Regions from separate parts of the Homo sapiens genome. Here regions 2, 3, 4 and 5 are each linked to region 1. The links are contacts of gene promoters, found by promoter capture Hi-C in blood cells and fetal thymus (Javierre and others, 2016). All regions are on one chromosome and are shown on one strand. The core of a region is centred on a gene start or on the middle of the fragment in contact, and the rest is flanking DNA. Distances in the headings are between cores, read along the strand shown.

Region 1 (2,500 bases), core at 1-2,500:
CAGGCACCGCTTCTCTCTCCTACACTCAACCCCTCTCCCACTCCACTGCCTCTCAGTGTGCAAAAACAGTAAGAAGTGTCCCGTATTTTCAAAATCTCTCCCCTGTAGTTCCCACCTGACTTCTAGTCGTAGGTGGCCAAAGTACAGTGTTTTTGAAGGATTGTTTTATTCCCAGTGCCTGGAATATGGTAGGATCTCAACAACTGTTGTTTCAATAAAGGAATGACCAAATGGGTGAATACTAATGTAACAATATCAATTCTGTTTCTTTCATAATTATTCTCATAAGTGTTAGCTTTCTTAAAAAATCATCTTCACAATTGGACCTAGACATTTTATCTTTCCCAGCTCAAGATGGATAAACTCAGAATGACAGGCCAGGCACCGTGGCTCATGCCTGTAATCCCAGCACTTTGGGAGGCGGAGGCGGGTGGATCACTTGAGACCAGGAGTTCAAGACCAGTCTGGTCAACACGGTGAAATCCCATCTCTACAGAAAATACAAAAAAGTTAGCAGGGCGTCGTGGCGCTCGTCTGTAATCCCAGCTGCTCGGGAGGCTGAGGCAGGAGAATCGCTTGAGCCCGGGAGGCGGAGGTTGCAATGAACCGAGATCGCCCTACTGCACTCCAGCCTGGGCAACACAGCGAGTCCCCGTTCCAAAAAAAAAAAAAAAAAAAAGACTCAGAATGACACATTCTTAATGTCTTAATGTATAATGAGAAGTATAACTATTCAGAAGTCCAAGCACTTGTGTGTGCATGGTGCTATCGTCTTGCTGTAGGCAAACCTACATGGGAATCCACCTTGACACATAGGCCACTTCCTGAGCCTGGACCCAGTCTCAGAGCTGGGGAACTGGCCCAATGCAAAAGGGTCGGGAGCATCTGCAACAGAGACTGAGCTCTATCAGCTTCGGTGACATAGCCTCCATTCACGCTCCCCAACTCAGCAGAGAGAGCACACCATCAGACTTCTAAGACTTAGTAGCCAAGAAGTGTTGAATTAAACTCTCTGAGACCTCTCTTTAGTCTGACCCTGGCAGCCTCAGTCTCCCAGAGCCTGTGGGAACTCGGCAGCCGAGAGGCAGAAGGCTGGGCGACGTCCGGAGAAGAAGAAACGGGGGAAGAACTTTTCTCTTACGATCTGGCTTTACTCTCACGCGCACAGCCGAGTCCCTGGGGACCCAGCAGAGGTCCGAAGCGGAGCGGGGCGGGGCGGGGCTACGGAAGCTGGCGAGGCCGAGCCCCTCCTAGTGCTTCCGGACCTTGCTCCCTGAACACTCGGAGGTGGCGGTGGATCTTACTCCTTCCAGCCAGTGAGGATCCAGCAACCTGCTCCGTGCCTCCCGCGCCTGTTGGTTGGAAGTGACGACCTTGAAGATCGGCCGGTTGGAAGTGACGACCTTGAAGATCGGCGGGCGCAGCGGGGCCGAGGGGGCGGGTCTGGCGCTAGGTCCAGCCCCTGCGTGCCGGGAACCCCAGAGGAGGTCGCAGTTCAGCCCAGCTGAGGCCTGTCTGCAGAATCGACACCAACCAGCATCATGTCCATGACACTGGGGTACTGGGACATCCGCGGGGTGAGTGAGGGTCCGCTGCACTGTGGGACCGGGCGCGTGGGCGGGAAGTGCCGAGCGGCTGGGGACCGGCTCTAGGGACGGTTCCCTCCTTAGGGCTATCTCTCACAGGAGGGCCTGTGCATGCCTGTGTGTGTGTGTGTGTGTGTGTGTGTGTGTGTGTGTGTGCGTGCGCCGGGGTGGGGGGGGGGTGCAGTGCAGTGTAGACTAGGGGCTCACCTGGTGCAGAGAAAGTCACCAAGTCAGGGACCCTCCATCTCTGACACGACCTGCGGGCCATCTCTTCCAGCTGGCCCACGCCATCCGCCTGCTCCTGGAATACACAGACTCAAGCTACGAGGAAAAGAAGTATACGATGGGGGACGGTAATGACACCCTTGTGTCCGGGCTCTGCCCACTCACGCTGAGTTGGCACCAAGCAACCCATGGTGGCCACCTGTGGCTACCTCTGCAGGCCTCCCCTGCTGGAGCTGCAGGCTGTCCCTTCCCTGAGCCCCGGTGAGGGAGTCCTGTGGCCTTGCAAGGCAGAATGCTGGGGCGGGATGCTGGGCCCCCTGTTTAATTGGGTTGGGTGTCCCTCAGAGCTTCCCTAAACCCTGGAAGCCTTAGCCGTGTGGGGTCCAGAGCCCTCAGCGGGATTCTTTGTCCCTGAACCCTGGGATGTGGGACTGAGTGGTCAGATTCTAGATCCACCTGTCTCAGGGATCTTGCCACTGGTTCCTTGGGAGGGTCCCCGGGAAGGAGGGCTGGGCTCTGGGGAGGTTTGTTTTCACTTCTTCTTCCCCACGGCAGCTCCTGACTATGACAGAAGCCAGTGGCTGAATGAAAAATTCAAGCTGGGCCTGGACTTTCCCAATGTAGGTGCAGGGGAAGGGGCGGTTTTGGGGGAAAGTGCGACGTGTCTCTGACTGCATCTCCTCTCCCCA
Region 2 (2,528 bases), core at 16-2,515, 460 kb after region 1:
CCTGCTTGCTGTAGGATCAGCCAAGCCTCCACTTTCTCCTCTGGCAGATGGAGATCATGGCAGTGCCTGCCTCATAGGTTGAGAGGATTCAATTAGGCAGGCCTGTGATGCAGATGCTGTGGGCTGTCCTGCCCCATCCCCTCAGCACTCACATTCCTGAGGGCCCGATGGCTTCCTACTTTTCTGTGGTCACAGGAGCATGCTGCTTAACACCTGTGGACCAGAAGTGCCAAGGAGGTAGCACTTCTATTAGCCAAAGACAGGAGTCAGAGCATAAAGATGCAGGTTCGGCCAGGTGCGGTGGCTCACGCCTGTAACCTCAGCACTTTGGGAGGCCAAAGCAGGCAGATTGCTTGTGTCTGGGAGTTTGAGATCAGCCTGGGCAGCATGGAGAAACCCATCTCTACTAAAAATACAAAAATTAGCCAGGCATGGTGGCGTGCAGCTGTAGCCCCAGTTACTTGGGAGGCTGACACAGGAGAATTACTTGAACCCAGGAAACGGAGGTTGCAGTGAGCCGAGATCATGCCACTGCACTCCAGCCTGGGCAACAGAGTGAGACCCTGTCTCAAAAAACAAAAAAAAAAACAAAAAAACCACACCTGGTGCAACTCAGGTGTGTTCCATGCAACCTCCCAGAACTCCCCAGCAGGATAACATACTAGTTGCCCACAATGGCAACCTGCTCATGAATGCACGTTTTGATTTCCCTCCCGTCCTCATCTCACATCCTCACTCCCCTCCTGGTGCCTCCTGGGATCACCTCCTAATTGAGTACTTGTTCTCAAATCCCTGTCTCAGTGTCTGCTGCTGGAAAGCCCAATCCAAAAGAGCGTGTAAAGTGCTTGACAGAAAGAGGACGCTTGATAAATGCTAGCCAGCTCACTAGTGTGAAAGTGTCATGAAGGCAGAAGTCATCCATCTGAATATGACTGTCTCCCCAGGTCCAGGTGCTGGCACAGAGGTGGCACCTAATACACATGTGTTGAAGAAATCAATAGACATGCTCCTCCCACCACCCTGTCCTTTCCCTCCCTCCCTTTCCCTAGTCTCACTCTCATTTCCCCCAGTCCCACATTTTCTTTCCTAGTGCTCTTTTTCTCCTCTCGTGGAGGAAGGATGCTCTGGGCCCAAATACCCCTTTGCTGTCCCAAAAGTTCCACTCTGGAAATGAGCCCCCCCGCAGCATTGTGACATCACCGTGCACTAGCCAATGGCTGCCTGCCTAAGCTGGGTCCCTGGTCTCCTGGGACTACTAGCCCTTTGTTGATAGGGAGAAGCCAACATCTCCCGCAGGACCCCCTAATCTTCAGGGCAGCTCCCAGAGCATGGATCCCTCCTGATTCCACTCAGCCCGATGTTCCTCACAGTCAAGCTGCTCCTGGGCCAGAGATGCAGTCTGAAGGTGTCAGGGCAAGAGAGTGTAGCCACGCTGAAGAGACTGGTGTCCAGGCGGCTGAAGGTGCCTGAGGAGCAGCAGCACCTGCTTTTCCGTGGCCAGCTCCTGGAGGATGACAAGCACCTCTCTGACTACTGCATTGGGCCCAATGCCTCTATCAATGTCATCATGCAGCCCTTGGAGAAGATGGCGCTAAAGGAGGCCCACCAGCCGCAGACCCAGCCCCTGTGGCACCAGCTGGGACTGGTCCTAGCTAAACACTTTGAACCACAGGATGCCAAGGCCGTGCTGCAGCTGCTAAGGCAGGAGCACGAGGAGCGCCTGCAGAAGATAAGCCTGGAGCACCTGGAGCAGCTGGCCCAGTACCTCCTGGCAGAGGAGCCTCACGTGGAGCCAGCTGGAGAGAGGGAGCTTGAGGCGAAGGCACGGCCTCAGAGCTCCTGTGACATGGAGGAGAAGGAGGAGGCAGCAGCTGATCAGTAAACGGGCCATCCTACCCATTTGCATGCTAAAATTCTCCCGGCCTCATCCTTACGTGTTCCCTGGTGACTTTTCCTACTACTTCCTGCTGATGTGGATGCGTCCACACCCCTTTTTGAACCTTCCAAGCAGCTGGAGGGTTTTTGGATCCCTGTCCCCTCTTGGGCCTGAGGTCCTCCCTCTGAAATGCAGAGTGAACCAACCCTCATCACCATGCTTCCCCTAGAAGGGTTCTGATCACCGGAGGGCAGCCCCAAAGGCCACAGTCCCCTCCTGTGCTGGCAGCTTTGCCCACACATACCCAGCAGCTCCCCAGGCTGAAAGCAGCCCTGGCCCAGGGTCTCCATGGTTCTAGGCAGACCCTCTTTCTCCTTCGGGACAGAAAGACAATGTGAGTTCATTTTCCTCCATCCTCAGACCGTGACATCTCCCCTAGGCTCCCCAGCAGCCAAGAGGAGAGGAATGTCAGGTAGCTGCCCCTTGCCTTCTGGGTGAGGCTGCCCCTGCTGTTCTCCTGCTTGTGCTTCCAGCTTAAGGGACAGGCACAGCAGAGGTGAGAGTGGGAGGAGGGCACGTACCGGGTGCCAGCCCTGGAGCCCTCAGGGAGACAGACACAGACCAAGAATAGCAGGAAACTGAGCCTCAGGCA
Region 3 (2,528 bases), core at 18-2,517, 430 kb after region 1:
AAGATTTATTCTGCATTGATGACAGGGGGTACAAGCTTGGGTGTAAAAACATCGGCCTCTCGTATTTGGCTGTAAACACTCTAGGGTGTGCAGGGGAAATATAGGAGTATGGGATAGAACAGAATGTTGGTTCTGGATGGGAGCTTAAACATCATCGAGTCCAAAGGTTCTTAAAGTATAGGCCTCAGGCCAGCAGCAGAAGCAACAGCTAGGAACTTGTTAGGAAGGCAAATTATGGCCGGGTGTGGTGGCTCACACCTGTAATCTCAGCACTTTGGGGGGCCGAGGTGGGTGGATCACTTGAGGTCAGGAGTTCATAGACCAGCCTGGGCAACATGACGGAACCCCGACTCTACTAAAAGTACAAAAATGAGCTGGGCACAGTGGCAGGCACCTGTAATCCCAGCTACTCAGGAAGCTGAGGCAGGAGAATCGCTTGAACCTAGGAGGTGGAGGTTGCAGTGAGCAGAGATCTTGTCACTGCACTCCAGCCTGGGTGACAGAGCGAGGCTCCATCTCAAAAAAAAAAAAAAAAGGCAAATTGTTGGGCCCTACCCCAGAGCTACTAAATCAGAAACTCTCGGGGTGGGGCCCAACAATCCTTGTTTTCACAAGTTGCTTCTAGGTGATCTTAATGTACTCTAAAATTTGAGAACCCCTGATCTAGTTTGCCATCTTCACTTAGAAATGAGGGAACAGAGGCCTAGAGAGGGAACTTTTGCCAAGAGCACACAGCTAGTTAGGATACAGCCACTCTCCCCCTCACCCATATGGTCTCAGCTATTTATTTTGCAAATAACTTGGGGGGATTTTAATACATTTTTTCTTAGAGGCAATTGTTGTGTGGTTTATATATTTTCCATTTGTTAATAAGCTACTTAGATCAGTAGTGTCGCTGGGACCCAAACTATGGAATTATTTTCCATTAAAGTTCAGGCTCTTGGAAGTGGACTTGGTAGCTACATGGTCCCTTTCCAGTCTGGCCCCAAGCTCAGGTGGACAAGTCACACTCCCCTGGCTGCTCCCCAAGACACTGGCACCATCTTCCCCTGTCTGTCCCCAGATGCCCTCCCTGTAATGACACCACCAGCACCATAGTCTTGCTCTGTGCAGATGTTTTGGTCAATAATCCCTCCCTTAATTTACCAGGCCAAGTGAGGGTGGATGTGGCAAGAATAGTTTCGCCCACTGGCCTTTGCTGCCTTCCTGGGAAGATCTGCCTCTTCTTCCGGCTCTCACAGTGGGCCCAGCATGTTTCCAATATTGCATCAGTCTTTTCCCCAACAGAGTAACGCTTTAATGGGGCAAATTTGTTCTCTGCACGGGAAACATGTGGGCCCTTGTCAGGTGCTGCATCAGAGTGAGTTGCCCTCCACCAGCTTCCTAGATCTGGCCGTGTGAGGAGGCAGAAGGAGCCCTCTGAGACTTTGGGGTGAGTAACTCTTCTAAAAGAGCAGAACCATAATAGACTGTGTTTACATCAGCTCCGATTCCTGGGAAATTCATACAAAAGTTGTGTTGTGGTCTGAATTTTCTAGCAAACAGAGAAGGAAGCAGTTTGTCCAGTGTCACTAGACCTTACTGAAGGATTTTACATGCAGTGGGAAGGAAGAAACCCACTCCCTTCATCCTCCAAAAACCGGGATGGAGATGGTTAGCAAGGGGGTGTGGGAGGCAGCCCAGGGTAGGACAGAGTGTCCAGTCCCTCTTGTCAGTGAGAGCCTTCCTTGACCCCAAACCTTAAGAAATCAAATCCCCACTCTCCTGGGAACTTGGTTTTCTCTTCCGGAGCCCAGATTCGTTCCTGAGCCCCGAAATGCTGAAGCCAGCATTCCTCACCTCCAGGGAGCTGTGACATCCTGGGATGGTTTGTTTGATTCACCAACATCCTCTCTGCTTCCCCTGACCAATCAGGGGTCTATAACTTGCAGTTAAATAATTAAAGTCAATTAAAGTTTATTTCATTTTGAGCATTTCCCAAAGCCCTAGAGTAAATTGGAGTCTCCCTGGAGTATTGCAAAGCCGGGTTTGGAAATCTCAGATGAAGAGAATGTTGGGCAATGGATGATGGAGAAAAAGGAGAAACAAAGAGAAAGAGGTGAGGGAAAGAGCTTTCAGTTTCACTGGGTCTCCGCTTGGGGAGGATCTGGCTGGTTTAATGGTGATTCGATGCAAAAACCGTTGATTCCATTCTGATGTACTCAAGAACAGAGATGGCTGGAGACAGAGACAAGGAGAGTCAGAAAGCGACAGAAAGTAAGTCTCTCCGGGCCTCTCCACCCAGCCAATGACAGTATCACTTCAGGAAGAGACACTCCCTGTTCCCCAACTTCGGTTCCCCCTCCGCCAAAACCGTATGATATTTTAGGGAAGCCCCTCTTTATTCATTAGAAATCGGCTGCTTTGAGTTTGGCCCCTAAAAACTTGCCTCCTGCCCCGGAAGATTTATTTTATTAAATGGTCCACACCTGAAAGTAATTGAGTCTCGGCGTGGGTGCGGGGACTGCGGAGGGAGGGTCCAGGCGCGG
Region 4 (2,528 bases), core at 17-2,516, 380 kb after region 1:
TTCCTTTCTGTCCTTGTTGAATCCAGTTTGTGCAGGGACTCTCCACTCTTGGCGTCTTAATCCATTTTTTGTTGCTATAACAGAATACAAAACACTGGGTAATTCATAAAGGAAAGAAAGTTATTTTTTGCAGTTCTGGAGTCTGGGGAGCCCAAAGTCGAGGGGTTGCATTTGGTGAGGGCTTTCTTAAACTGCATGGTAGAGAGCCTCTCACGGTGAGAAAGCAAGAGCATGTGTGCCAGCTCAGATCACTCTTCCTCTTCTTATAAAGCCACCAGTCCCATCACAGGGGCCCTACCCTGACGATTTTATCTAATCCTAATCACCCCCTCAAGGCTCCACCTCCAAATACCATCAACATATGAACTTTAGGATTGAGTTTCCAACGTATGGAATTTGGGGGACACAGTCAAACCATAGCACTCGGTATCTGACCACCCTCAACATCTTAGCACCCTGTCCTGCTTTCAGCAATAATCCTGTTAGGTCAGTTTAGCAAGAAACTTCTTATCCTTGATGTTTCTCTTAGTAGTTTTCCGTCCACTGACCCTCATCCTGCTCTTTGGTTATAAATCCCCACTATATCTTGTTGGAGTCAGAGTTGAGTCTAATTCCTCTTCTTCACTGCAAGATCTGGTTGTAGTGGTCCCTGTAACTATCACCATGGGCTCTCTTACATAAAGTCTGCCTTACCATCTTTAATTAGTGCCATGAACAAATTTTCCTTTAACACTTTTCAGCATTTATTTCTCTATATTTGTCTATTGTTTGTCTGACCCACCAAGCACTGTTATGTACCGTGACTGCAGACACTTGTTCCTCATTTTATCCCACTGCTTGGTGCACAGGAGACATTTATTAAATGTTTGTTGAATGAATGAATGACAAGCACTTGTCACAACGGTAACTCTGTGAAGACTAGGATCCTATCCATTTTGTTCATTACAAAATTCCGCCTAAGCCTTGAACAAGGCTATGAGTTATAAGTGCAAAGCGATTTAGAGGAAGGAGGGGTAACTAAACTGACTGAAGAAGCTAAGGGAAGCCTCACAGATAAAATTACATCTAAACTGAAACTGAAAGGAAGGTGGAAAACTAAAAAGATCAACAAGGGAAGGACTGCAGACAGAATATCGCGAGGTATTGGTCAGCCAAGATGGCTTCTAACACTGGCCGCCACACTTAATATGGCGGCCAGGGAAATTTCCTGGAGAAAATCACGCGAGAGTTGCATCACGGCGGCTGTGCGCGAGTTAAGCTGGGGGTGTGGAGCAGCCAAGATGGAGCCGGCAGTCGGCGGTCCGGGCCCACTGATCGTGAACAACAAACAGCCCCAGCCCCCGCCACCTCCGCCGCCGGCAGCCGCACAGCCACCACCCGGGGCACCGCGGGCCGCCGCGGGCCTCCTGCCTGGGGGCAAAGCCCGCGAGTTCAACCGCAACCAGCGCAAAGACTCAGAGGTCAGGAGCTTCGGGGGGCGAGGCTCGCACCGGGTCGGGCGGCGCCGGGGGTCCCGGGCCCGGGGCCACTCTAGGGGCCAGGTTGGGCTTCCCGGAGGGCTCGGTAGAGTCCGGCCGAGAACTGTCACTATACAGCGAAAGGAGCAGGAAGCGAGGCTGGCAGCTCCTGGGGTCTGGAGCATGAGTCCTTGCTCTAGCTCCGCCGCCCGGGAGAGCTTCCCGTGGCCGGCGACTGCTGGTTTGCTCCCCTGGGCCCCGACTGTGGGCGTGGCCTCGAGGCCCTAGCCCCTGGGGAAGCCGCTCTCGCCCCAGCTCGGGGGTGAGGAGTCGGGGGTCTTGGTGCACTCCAGGGCGCTGGGCTGCCGCGCCCCCAACCTAATCATCTCGGGCGTCTGTCCCTGGCACGCGGGCTCCAGCTCCTGGGTCCTGCCGCTCGCAGAGGAAGGCGCGTGTGGGCAGGGAAGGCGCCGGCGAGGATCTGGAAGGAACTTAGAGCCGGACCGAGCTAATTATCATTGAGAGTAGAGTAGGAGGGGGAAACATGTCCTGTTCTTCTGACCTGAGCCAGATCAGGCCATGGGTTAACAGTACCTGTGGTGGGCTATTGTGCCCAGTGCGCCTGATACTGAACTGTTAAAGATGAGAAATAGACATTTTAAGCATGCGTTAGGACCCAACATTCCTTCCTGTCTCGCTAGTGAGCCGTTCCTGCCGTTCTGGAGATGGCATAGTCTGGAACTGACTAGTAACCTCACCCCAAGTTAAGGAATTCCTCCCACTGCCTCCTTTTGCAGAATTCATGAATGAAGATACTCATGTCGCGGAGTTTTAGGGCTTCTTAATGAGCAGGTTCCCAGAGCACTTACTATGCCATCTCCTAGATTGATCAGCAGCCAAACTGATCAGCCAAGTTAATGAGAGGGAATTCCTAGTTGTCCAAGCATAATGTACCAATTCATACCAAAGAGCAATGATACTACCTTTAGACCTGTGGAATCAGTTCCTCAGAAGCTTTTATTTTTTGTTAGCAAGGCTAAACCCCTGAGAAAACATGTCAACAATTGGCAA
Region 5 (2,528 bases), core at 19-2,518, 350 kb after region 1:
ACCTGGTATCTGGGAACATGCCCAGAACCCTTTGAAAAAAGGCGAACAGGGGAAGGAATCATAGCAGAGGGGAGAGTAGCTTCCAAATAGAATAGGCTGCATATGCCAGCAGCAGGGAGGCTGGTGGAGGAAGGGCTGCCTCTGGAGAGTGTTAAGAGGGGTTGATGGTCTCTTGACTGTGTATTTTTTTCCATCATCAAAATAACAGCATATTGAGTTGGAAGTCATTACCTTGGTCCTGGATTAATTTCTTCAGCAAAACTAGCTTTACTGACTGTAGAAATCAGTTTCCAATTTGTTTATATTAGCTGCTTGTGCCTAGGCTGCCCGCTTAAACCTGATTGCTGCACTGCAATCTGGTGCTCCCCTAGCTGAAGGGTACATGTGAAAGAGGAGGAGAAGCTTTTGCAGCTGTAACTAATGGGTAGTTTACTGTTCCTGGCTTTAAAGTGGCTGTAACCATGTTGCCAGTATTATACAGAGAAGATTTTAATCTGTAGTCATTTACATTTCCAGAGTATTTGCTAAAGACTTAGCTTAATGGATTCTCCAAGGGAACCTTTTCAGATTTAGTCAGATCGTGAACAGAATCTCAGTTCACATACTCAAACCATCCTGCTTATTTCAGGGGTGAAGTTTATTTTATTTTGAAGAAAGGGTTTATCAGAGTTTAAACAGGAGTTCGGGAGGAAGGTTTAAACCATGTAATAAAAGTGTTACACACTTTATAAATCTATAAATAATATCAATTGCAAGCTATTTGCTATTGATTAGAGCCAGTTTTATTCTTCAAAGAATTATCTAGTTCTGGCTTATTTCATTTAAGGAAGTTTTTTTTTTGGGTTTTTTTTTTTTTTTTTTGAGACAGAGTCTCACTCTGTCACCCAGGCTGGAGTGCAGTGGCACGATCTCGGCTCACTGCAACCACCACCTCCCGGGTTCAAGCAATTCCCTGCCTCAGGCTCCCAAGTAGCTGGGACTACAGGCACCCGCCACCAAGCCCAGCTAATTTTTGTATTTTTAGTAGAGACGGGGCTTCACCGTCTTGGCCAGGCTGGTCTCCATCTCCTGACCTCGTGATCTACCCAAAGTGTTGGGATTACAGGCGTGAGCCACTGTACCTGGCCCATTTAAGGAAGTTTTTAATACAAAGTTTACCAAGTCATTATTTTCTCCTTCCTTCAGATTAGTCCTAATGAGTTAGAATTTACTATAGTGTATGTGGGTTTTTAATTTTCTTTTTATCATTATATTCTGGTATTTTAAATTTTTAATAGGATAGGAGGTTCTAGAGATATTACATTGGCTTTGTGAAGTATAGACATATGGTTGGGCTCTGAGTATTGGCACCCTAATGCCCATCACCATTTCTAGGCATCTCTTCATAATTCTTTCAGAAAGCAAGACCATTTGCCAACTTTAGGAATGTGCTACAAGGGAATATTCTGAAACAAAAACCAAAAAACCCCAGTAGCACTATGAGATTCTGTTTTCTGAAAGATTTGGGAAGAAGGGTAAAGAGTTTAATCTGTCAGGGTTATAAGAGGGGAAAAAAACTTGATGGAATGTGAGAAAGATTTATAAAATTGAACATATACTAAACGAAATTGGTTCTTAACCTTAGCCCCTCCTCCCAAATCCTGCAGAAACAATTGGGAAGAGACAGTGATTGACGTGTTGGGAGAAGTCAGAGAGTAGCCTCGGCCTTCCCCCATTTCTGGTGGGAAAGTTGCTGGCTTAGTAGGAACCATGTGATTACATGGCTTTTAGGGAAAGACAATGTATCCTTAAAAAAAAAAACATTTCATGGATTTTCCTTATAAGTTTTCAACTTTTTGTCTTCCTTTTGTATAGCAAATCCAGTTTGCTGATGACATGCAGGAGTTCACCAAATTCCCCACCAAAACTGGCCGAAGATCTTTGTCTCGCTCGATCTCACAGTCCTCCACTGACAGCTACAGTTCAGGTAGGTGTGAATGAACTCCATGTCCTCTCTAATCTCTCTTCCCTGTTTGCTACCAGTGCTCTTCACTTAGCAATCTGAAAATACCTCATGTTATGACTGCCCACCTTTGTGCTGAAAACTGTTAGTGGCTGGGCAGTGGGAATGTTCTGCAGCCAAGCTAGTAGCTGGGGAAGCTTTTGTCGACTCGAGACTTTCTTCCCCCTGGCTGTCTGTGTGTGTGGTCTGTGGCCAGTGCCCAGTTGGTAGGACTGGGCTAGTTCCCATTCCCACATTGATCCGCCCATTTCAAAAGGAAGAAATCAATGCTATTTTGGCTGACAGAATTGGACTTAAAAAAGAAGTGCATTTTGAAGCACGATTTCTTTGTGTAAAATATACCCTGTCACCTATCTCTTTCTTTCTTGTCTCCAAGACTGCTTAGATTGTAACAATAAAATTAGTATTTTGGCTTCTCTTATTTATTAGGTTATTCTTTCTGTTGGAATATCCTCCCCTGTTAGACTCTGGAGCAGGAAAGATTCAGACTACTGTAATGTAACTCCAGCTCTGTTTCTTTTTAGTT

Evidence for each region. Contacts are between HindIII fragments. The CHiCAGO score rates a contact against its expected background, and 5 or more counts as called.
Region 2: a contact is called between the fragment with the promoter of UBL4B here and the fragment with the promoter of GSTM4 in region 1, in 5 of 17 cell types (M2 macrophages, naive B cells, M0 macrophages and 2 more). The highest score is 7.4, in M2 macrophages.
Region 3: the fragment with the promoter of LINC01397 here is called in contact with the fragment with the promoter of GSTM4 in region 1 in 2 of 17 cell types (neutrophils and endothelial precursors); the score reaches 6.2 in neutrophils.
Region 4: the fragment with the promoter of STRIP1 here is called in contact with the fragment with the promoter of GSTM4 in region 1 in 7 of 17 cell types (non-activated CD4 T cells, M0 macrophages, M1 macrophages and 4 more); the score reaches 6.8 in non-activated CD4 T cells.
Region 5: a fragment that was not itself captured here is called in contact with the fragment with the promoter of GSTM4 in region 1 in 2 of 17 cell types (M0 macrophages and erythroblasts); the score reaches 7.2 in M0 macrophages.

Annotation. Positions count from the first base shown.
Region 1 is chr1:109,654,849-109,657,348 of GRCh38, forward strand. It overlaps GSTM4 (glutathione S-transferase mu 4), which reads left to right and starts at 1,251. Exons shown (of 8, transcript NM_000850.5): 1 at 1,251-1,577; 2 at 1,864-1,939; 3 at 2,367-2,431. The coding sequence starts at 1,542. RefSeq lists enhancers at 969-1,018, 1,892-2,477. The HindIII fragment of the contact is 5,301 bases long and covers 1-2,500 here.
Region 2 is chr1:110,111,178-110,113,705 of GRCh38, forward strand. It overlaps UBL4B (ubiquitin like 4B), which reads left to right and starts at 1,266. Exons shown (of 1, transcript NM_203412.2): 1 at 1,266-2,528. The coding sequence starts at 1,358. The coding sequence ends at 1,882. The HindIII fragment of the contact is 8,258 bases long and covers 1-2,528 here.
Region 3 is chr1:110,081,421-110,083,948 of GRCh38, forward strand. LINC01397 (long intergenic non-protein coding RNA 1397) reads left to right here and starts at 1,268. Exons shown (of 4, transcript NR_126382.1): 1 at 1,268-1,432. The HindIII fragment of the contact is 6,914 bases long and covers 34-2,528 here.
Region 4 is chr1:110,033,358-110,035,885 of GRCh38, forward strand. It overlaps STRIP1 (striatin interacting protein 1), which reads left to right and starts at 1,267. Exons shown (of 21, transcript NM_033088.4): 1 at 1,267-1,460. The coding sequence starts at 1,281. It overlaps LOC105378895 (a long non-coding RNA gene), which reads right to left and starts at 2,082. Exons shown (of 3, transcript XR_947693.3): 1 at 2,052-2,082; 2 at 1-74. RefSeq lists an enhancer at 942-1,331 and silencers at 1,332-1,551, 1,792-1,861. The HindIII fragment of the contact is 6,759 bases long and covers 1-2,469 here.
Region 5 is chr1:110,007,180-110,009,707 of GRCh38, forward strand. It overlaps AHCYL1 (adenosylhomocysteinase like 1), which reads left to right. Exons shown (of 17, transcript NM_006621.7): 2 at 1,855-1,966. Among named protein-coding and RNA genes, the nearest start is that of AHCYL1, 24 kb to the left of the region's middle. The HindIII fragment of the contact is 1,737 bases long and covers 401-2,137 here.